Linked DNA regions of Homo sapiens: regions 1 and 3 are each linked to region 2. Evidence: promoter capture Hi-C in human tissues and cell types (Jung and others, 2019). All regions are on one chromosome and are shown on one strand. Each heading gives the region's core, a stretch centred on a gene start or on the middle of the fragment in contact. The rest is flanking DNA. Distances are from core to core; before and after follow the strand shown.

Evidence for each region. The method cuts DNA at HindIII sites, captures the fragments that hold promoters and counts their contacts. A contact is called where the count stands out against the background at its distance.
Region 1: a contact is called between a fragment that was not itself captured here and the fragment with the promoter of ALOX12 in region 2, in 1 of the 25 tissues and cell types used here (H1 embryonic stem cells).
Region 3: a fragment that was not itself captured here is called in contact with the fragment with the promoter of ALOX12 in region 2 in 1 of the 25 tissues and cell types used here (lymphoblastoid cells).

What each region holds. Positions count from the first base shown.
Region 1 is chr17:6,764,623-6,767,322 of GRCh38, reverse strand. The region is part of intron 5 of XAF1 (XIAP associated factor 1); the gene reads right to left. Among named protein-coding and RNA genes, the nearest start is that of XAF1, 9.9 kb to the right of the region's middle. The HindIII fragment of the contact is 6,608 bases long and covers 1-2,700 here.
Region 2 is chr17:6,994,648-6,997,347 of GRCh38, reverse strand. It overlaps ALOX12 (arachidonate 12-lipoxygenase, 12S type), which reads right to left and starts at 1,299. Exons shown (of 14, transcript NM_000697.3): 1 at 1,096-1,299; 2 at 321-522. The coding sequence starts at 1,230. All of the region lies in intron 2 of ALOX12-AS1 (ALOX12 antisense RNA 1), which reads left to right. The HindIII fragment of the contact is 20,112 bases long and covers 1-2,700 here.
Region 3 is chr17:6,746,880-6,749,579 of GRCh38, reverse strand. No RefSeq gene overlaps it. Among named protein-coding and RNA genes, the nearest start is that of XAF1, 7.8 kb to the left of the region's middle. The HindIII fragment of the contact is 5,886 bases long and covers 1-2,700 here.

The DNA.
Region 1 (2,700 bases), core at 141-2,640, 230 kb after region 2:
TTATTCACCTTGTTTAGAACAACAACTGTTGTATCTGGGGAGTAAATACATGAATGTTTATTGTATTAACTTTCTACTGTCATATTTATTTGAAAGTTTTTGTAATCAATTTTATTTCTTTTATTTTTAGTGGACAAGTAATAATGATACATACTTATAGAATACAGAATGATTTTCTAATACATGTATACAGTGTGTAGTGGCCAAATCAGAATTGTAATAAGATTTTTAATAAACAGATTAAGATGGTCAATAGATTCTATAGCCACCCAAGCTTTCATTTTCAGACATATAAGGCCTAAAAAATTTGCCTCTCATGCTTTCTTTCTCAAGAAACTATTTGGGGATATGTTCTATCAAACAAGGAGTAACCTAAGAAAGAGAAAGATGAGACCTGAGATTTGGGAATCAGAACTCCAACCGTGGAGAGAGTGGAAGAAATTCCAGACCAACAGCTAATCATCAAGCCTGGGGCATAACATGCTCCCAAAATGAAATGGACAGACTATCTGATGTGTGTAGTTGTACTCAGGGGAATTTTCAGATCTGGTAGAGAATTTTAGGGATGATTTAGTGATAGGTACCTAGAAAGTGAAGCAAATGAAAAACCGAAGCAATTATTAAGTCCAGGTAAAACAAAAAGTTGTAGGAGAAAGAACACATAATCACAATTCATGTGGAAAACCATTTATAATGTTTACATGGTTATACTAATGTAATACTGAATATTTATTTAACCAGAATGAGTGAAATCAATACATTGGAAGGATGAAATGAAGAACTTTGGAGGTGTGTGTGTGGGATGGGTGGTATAAAAAAGTGAAATCTATATTCCTAAATCCTTATGAGTCAATAAGTAATATCTAAAACTGGAAAAAATATAAGAAGGTGCTTTAGACATATGAAGGTGATTACCAGAAGAAACAGCTAAAAGCAAAAGTAGAGTATTTGTGTCTGGGGAGTAGTTAGCATGAAGGGGACCAGTGGGGCTTATAGTTTTTCTGAGGTCGTGGGAGACAATTAACAAGGGCCATAATAAGTAAGTAAATTAGATAATATGTTAGAAGTTGGCAAATGCTATGGAAAAAATAATAGAAGAAGGTAAGGGGTTGGTAAATATGTGATGGAGAGGGAGTTGCAATTTTAAATAGGTTGTTGTGGTACATCTCCTTGAGAAGGTGCCATCTGGGCAAAGACTTGAGAGAAGTGAGAGAGTTAGCTCCTGGAGTAGGGTGGGGAAGGTGAGGAGGTAGCTTCCAGCCAGAGGCAGTAGCCAGTGAAAAGGCCCTAAGGCATGGTATGCTCAAGAAACAATCAGGAGGCCAGTGAGCTGAACAGGAGTAGTACATGAGATCAAAGAGGTGATGAGATAAGAAGGGAGGCAAAGATGACATAGATCTCTAAAGCCACTGTAGTTTTGAGTTTGCATAAAATGGGGCAAGAATCAGTACAGAGATCTGAACAGAGGAGCCAAACAATCTGACTTGTATTTTTAAGGGATCACGTTGACCTCTGTGATGAGAATAGACTGTAGGGGGCAAGGTGAGAAGTAGGAAGACCGTTTAGGAGACTGCTGCAGCATCTGGGCTAGAGAAGATGATGGTTCATACCAGGGTAGCAATGCGGAGGGAAAGAGAAGTCGAGAGTGAACCTGAGATTTTGGCCTGAACAACTGGAAAGATAGAGTTGCCATCAACTGAGATGGGCCAAGCTGTGGCAGAGAGGATTCCATTTCAGATGTGTTACATTTAAGATGTCTATCAAGCATTCAAGTGAAGATGCAGTAAATAGTAATATACAAATCTAGAGTTTGGGGAGAAAAACCCAGACTGAGATATAAATTTGGAAGTGTCTGACTACATATGGCTTTTTAAAAAATTTTTAAATTTTTATTTATTTATCTATTTTTTGAGATGGAGTCTCGCTCTGTCGCCCAGGCTGCAGTGTAGTGGCGTGATCTCGGCTCACTGCAAGCTCCGCCTCCTGGGTTCACGCCATTCTCCTGCCTCAGCCTCCCGAGTAGCTGGGACTATAGTCACCCACCACCACACCCGGCTAAGTTTTTGTATTTTTAGTAGAGACGAGAGTTCACTGTGTTAGCCAGGTTGGTCTCGATCTCCTGACCTTGTGATCCTCCCACCTCGGCCTCCCAAAGTGCTGGGATTACAGGCATGAGCCACCATACCCGGCCTTACATATGGCATTTTTAAAAATCAGGAGGTAGGATGAAATAATGAAGGCAGTGAATATAGGTAGAGAAGAGACCAGAGACTAAGCCCTGGGGCCCCCCAAAATTAAGAGGCTGGGGAGGTAGAGAATGAGAGACCACCAATGTCCTTGAAAACCAGGAAAGTGTGGTACCCTGGAAGCCGAGAAAGTCCACTGAGGAAGAGGGAGTGATGAGCAGTAAATGCTTCCCATAAATTGAGAACTGAGAACTGAGCATTGGATTTAGCAATGCAGAGGTCATTGATTTTGACAAGAGCAGATTTGGTTAAAATGGAGAGCCAGACTGGAGTGGGAATAAGAATGAGAGAAGAAAAGATGGAGGCAGTTACTTATAGACAACTAGCTCAAATGTTTTTCTACGGAGGGGAACAAAGAAACAAGATGGTAGCTTATAGGAAATGGGATCAGAAGTATTTCATGTTTTTCTGGCTTTGGGTCATATTAATAAAAAGTTAAAGACTGAAAACCACA
Region 2 (2,700 bases), core at 50-2,549:
TTCCTACTTTCACTTTGCTTCTCTGTTTTCCTGGATCGCTGCAACTCCCACTTTCTGTCTTTGCCTTCTTGGAAGATGGGATCTCCAGATCACTTACTCCCTGCCTCCAGCCTCACACGCAGCCTCTCTTAGCCTGTGTAAAACTTTGGGAATTCATAACTCCTTCCCGTTTTCTGTCCAGCACCCTGGGATCCCTACATTTCACCTGCCCTGGGCCCATACATCCTCTAAGTCTGCTCCGACCGTCCTTAACTCTGCCCTCCTAGCCCCGCAGCAGTTCCCGAGACCTTGTGCCTCCTTCCCCGACGCCGCCTGCTCACCGGTGCCCTCGGGCAGGCTCAGGATGTCCTCGCCCTGCACCCAGCGGTAGCACGGGAAGGCCACCTCCGCGCAGGCTCCAGGGCCCTGCACCGTGATGCGGTCGCAGAACCACGCGTCGTCCACCAGCCAGTGGTGCTTGCGCAGCCTCACGAACTGCAGGAGCCCCAAGTCCTCTGCAACGTCATGATCAAACTCCTCCTCCTGTGCAGGCCGGACCCAGGCCAGACTTAGTAGGAGGGACCCGACTGAGGCCGTTTCGAGGACAGAGCCGCGCTCCTGTGCAACCTCAGTTTCTCAGGGCCTCCAAAGACAGCATCGCCTCGTTCCCGCCCCCGCACAACCTGCTCTTTGGGTCTCAGACGCCCGGAGTCGGGTGGAGGACGAGGGCCCGCAGCGCCTGGAGCTGATGCTGGAGCAGCATCGCCCACGTGGGTCCCATTAACTGAGCTCTCCCCGCGCCGGTTCTTGGAGGAGCTTCACGTCTGACCTCTGGCCTCATACTTACATTGGCTCTGGGTCACTGGGAGAAGGAGCTGGGGGCTGCCGGGACCAGGGGCGGGAAAGGGAGATGGGGTTGAGCCCAGCCCGGGATCCCAGCTGCGGACCCTGTCCCTAATCTTGCCCACCTCGTCCCAGCTTCGTGGAAGTCCCAGTCCGCGAGGTCGCGCTGTCACCTCGCCCCCAGCCTCCCGCCCTCCCGCCGCGAGCCCAGCTCGGCCCGGGCCTGGGCCCGGGGTCCCCGCTGCCCTAGCTCCCCTCGCTCCCCGCGCTGACCTCGCCCCGCGCGGGCCGCAGCTGCAGCTCCAGCTCCGCCTCCCCGCGCGTCCCGACCAGCCAAAGCTGCACGCGGTTGTACGACCCGGAGAAGAGCCAGGCCCCGGTGGCCACGCGGATGCGGTAGCGGCCCATGGCGCCCCCCAGCAGCTTAGGCGAGGGGAGCCGGGTCCTGTGCGATTCCCGGGACCGCCCAGGGCTGCCGGCGCCTCGGGGCCACTTCCAACCTTTAAAGGACCGGTCTGCGGCCCCGCCCTCCTCGCAAGTTTTAGGCGCTCCCAAGTCCCCGCCCCAGACTAGCCCAAACCTGCGAGCAGAGCGGTAGAGCCGGCTGTGGGGACTGGCTGTGCCTCCTGGTCGGAGCGTAGCTGCAGGATGATAAAGGGGCCCGAGCCAGGGTGAGGCCAACGGGGTGGGTGCGGCGGGACCTTCCTGGACCTCCCGGGAAGGCGGGATCGAGGTGGGCCTGAGCCCCCGGGTTGGAGCGAACATAGATGAGAACACTTCCCGAGGTCTCCAGGTCTTCTGGGGAGCCAGGAGGAAGTAGGGGATGAGTCCATCTTCCAAACGGAGGGGAAGGTCTCCGCTTTTCTGGGCTGGGACCCGGGGAAGGCAGTGGGCCGGCTTCTGGAAGGTCGGCCTGGGAGGCCGTGCTGGGGTCTGGGGATGTCCCGCGGCTAGACCCGGCGCGGCCCATGTGTCCTCCAGTACCTGAGCTCTGCCGCCCTTGAACGCTGTGCTTCCGTCAACGACCAGGGGTTCCCCAGGGTACCTAGAACCTGGAAATGTAGCAGCTCAACACCCGCTCCCCACCCCGTTTCAAATATCTGGGCGCTGGGGTCCCAATGTACACCAAATATCATGGGCCAGACCTTTGAGAGAGGCCTGAGGCAGGGCAGTGAAAAACTCATTTTGTCCAACCTCCGAAGCGGGTACAGACAATGTTAGGGACCCAGGAACACCAGTCGGGGTGTTAGGGTGCGGGATGGAATTGCTTAGGGACCTGGCCTACGTGGCCAGTTCCCAAGAACTTTGTCTTTTCCAGGTGAGTGCAGCCCCTTCCGCTCCAGTAGGTTCCAGATTAATTTTTTATCCCCAAGCTCTTTCCTGCTCCTTCATGGGTCTCAGGTCTCCTGGAAATCCAGGAACAGCAATTAGCCCACTGCTATTTAGGGCCTTTGTAAACATTGAAGGATGATTCGGAGCTTAGGCTTTCTCTCCCGTGTCAGGAATCAGTCAGATGAAGCCTGCTGCACGCGTCCCTGTCTAGATCTTGATTCAAGTGATTATATGCATTTGGATCTCCGTGGATGCATCTGGTGGCCTGGGCTAGGCCAGTGTAAGTTAAATCTGCTTTCTTGAGCCAGTCCTCAGAAATGACTTGGTGGCCTAGTTGTTGGTAGAGGTAAGTGAGTGGGAGTTTTAGCCCCGCCTTCCAGCCTCCAGATCAGACTCTATCTCAAAAATAAATAAATAAATAAATAAAAATAAAAAAATAAAGTGTCTGTCCCTTACTGGATTCAATTCCCTTTCTTATCTTCTAGGTCCACTCTGGCCTACATCCTCTGCTCAGGACTGCAGGTCGGCCATTTGCTGGTCCCCAGT
Region 3 (2,700 bases), core at 63-2,562, 250 kb after region 2:
TGTTCCTCTTTTCTTGCCTTCTTTTGGATTCTTTGAATATTTTTTTGAATTCCATTTTAATTTATGCTTGGGGATGCATCACCTTCCTAGCACATTGATGTATGATCACCTGCCAGGTAGCTCACCTGAGCTTTAGTGTCCAGAGTTTTTACTGAAGGTCTTTCCATACATTTTAATTTCCCTTCAGCCTAAAGCACTTTTTATTTTGTAGTGTAGGTCTTTTGGCAATGAATTCTTTTTGTTGGTGGTGGTGTTTTTTGTTTTGTTTTGTTTATTTGTTTGTTTGTTTTTGAGATGGAGTCTTACTCTGCCACAGAGGCTGGAGTACAATGGCATGATCTTGGATCACTACAACCGGCACCTCCTGGGTTCAAGTGATTCTCCTGCCTCGCCTCCTGAGTAGCTGAGATTACAGGCATCCACCACCGGGCCTGGCTAATATTTGTATTTTTAGTAGAGACAGGGTTTCACCAGGTTGACCAGGCTGGTCTCAAACTCCTGATCTCAGGTGATCTGCCCATCTCAGCCTCCCAAAGTGCTGGGATTACAGGAGTGAGCCACTGCACCCAGCTGGCAATGAATTCTTTTAGATTTCTTTTATCTGAAAATTCCTTTATTTTGCCCCAATTCTTGAAGGCTATTTTCATTGGAAGTAGAATTCTGGGTTGACAGTTTATTTTTTCTTTCAGTACATTACAAATGTTATTTGGCCTCCATAGTATCTGGTGAGAAGTACATGGTCATTTGAGTTGTCATTCCCCTGTATGTAATCTGTCATTTTTCTCTGACAGGCATCAGGTTTTCTTTTTATCTTTGGTTTTCAGCAGTTTCATAATGATTTGTCTACACATAGATTTCTTCATCTTTATCCTGACTGGGGTTTGCTGAATTTCTTGTGCCTGTAAATTAATGTCTTTCACCAAATTGGGGAAAATTTCAGCCATTGTTCTGCAAGATTTTTTTCTGCCCCATTCTTTGTCTCTTTCTCTGGGACTCATTAAAAGTGTCTTAGACATTTTGATGTTGAGGATCTCTTCTATTTTATTTTTTTTCTTCAGATTAGATAATTTCTGTTGATCTAGTTTCAAATTCACTGACTCCTCTGTCATCTTCTAACTGCTGTTAATTTTTAATTTTAGATATTTTAATCAATTTTAGAACTTCCGCATGGTTTATTTGTATAGTTTTTATTTATCTGCTGAGATTTTCCATTTGTTTATTTATTACAGATATATATTTTTCTTTACATGATTATGCATGGTTACAACAGGTGTTTTAAAATCCTTGTCTAATAATTACAACATATGGGTCATCTTGGATTGGGCTTTTGATTGTATGTTCTCTTGAGAAGGGATCACATTTATCTGTTTCTTTGCTTTTCAAGTAATTTGGGATTGAATTCTAGACATTGTGAATATTATGTTGTATAGATGCTGGCTTCTTTTAGCTCCCTCTGAAAACCATTGATTTTTGTTTGTTTGTTTGTTGCAGGCAGTTAACTGGCGGGATGCAAAGGCAATCTTTGATTCTCAAGTCTCAATTTGGGCTCTTTTTGTTTCTTTCCAAGATCAAGATACAATTTATTGGCCGGGTGCAGTGGCTCACGCCAGTAATCCCAGCACTTTTGGAGGCCGAGGCAGGCAAATCACAAGGTCAGGAGTTCAAGACCAGCCTGGCCAATATGGTGAAACCCCGTCTGTACTAAAAATACAAAAATTAGCCGGGCAAGGTGGCAGATGCCTGTAGTCCCAGCTACTTGGGAGGCTGAGGCAGGAGAATCGCTTGAACCCAGGAGGCAGAGGTTGTAGTGAGCCAAGATCGGGCCACTGCACTCCAGCCTGGGAGACAGGGCGAGACTCTGTCTCAAAAAAAAAAAAAAAAAATTTCTTTATTTTACTTGACTAAAATTTCTGTGTTCTTTAAAAAAAAAGAACATATAATAGTTACACATATTTTGGGAGTACATGTAATATCTTTATACCTGTATACAATGTGTAATAATTAAATCAGTATAATTGAGATATTCATCTCCTCAAACTCAGTTTAGATTTTTAACTAGGTTACTTAGAACTTCTCTCCTGTGTATGTAATTCAGGGGTCATCCAGGGATTTGGGCAGAGTTTATTCGCAGAATTTAAGGCTTCCCCTCTCTGCACTCTCCTTTCTGAGATTTCACCATTACTTTCCAGCTGCTGCGGTTGTCCTCAGGTTCTTTAGGACAGAAAGACAGTGACTTCCCTATTAGAGCTTTAGATAGCCTAGGTGCTCTGCCCTTATACTAGAAGCTGTGAAAATAGAAACTCACTCAATACAGTTTCCTGCTTCCACGTGTCAACTAATGTTGGGATTTTCACAAGCGTTGGGTAGTGCAGTTCCCTTAAGTGTTGACTCCCTCCAGAATCTGTATTTTTTTATCCTCCAGTGCATTCAGGTTGTTTATTGTGGTACCTTGTCCAGAATTTATAGTTATTATTTATGGGAATATCGGTATGATTGCAATGAGTTGGGGAGTAACTTGGAGATGAGAAATTTTTTTAATTTTTAATTTTTGTGGGTATATAGTAGGTGTATATATTTATGAAATACATGAGATATTTCGATATAGACATGCAAGGCATAATATTCACATTGGGATTGGGTATCCATCACCTCAAGTGTTTATACTTTCTTTTACAAACAACCCAATTATACTCTTATTTA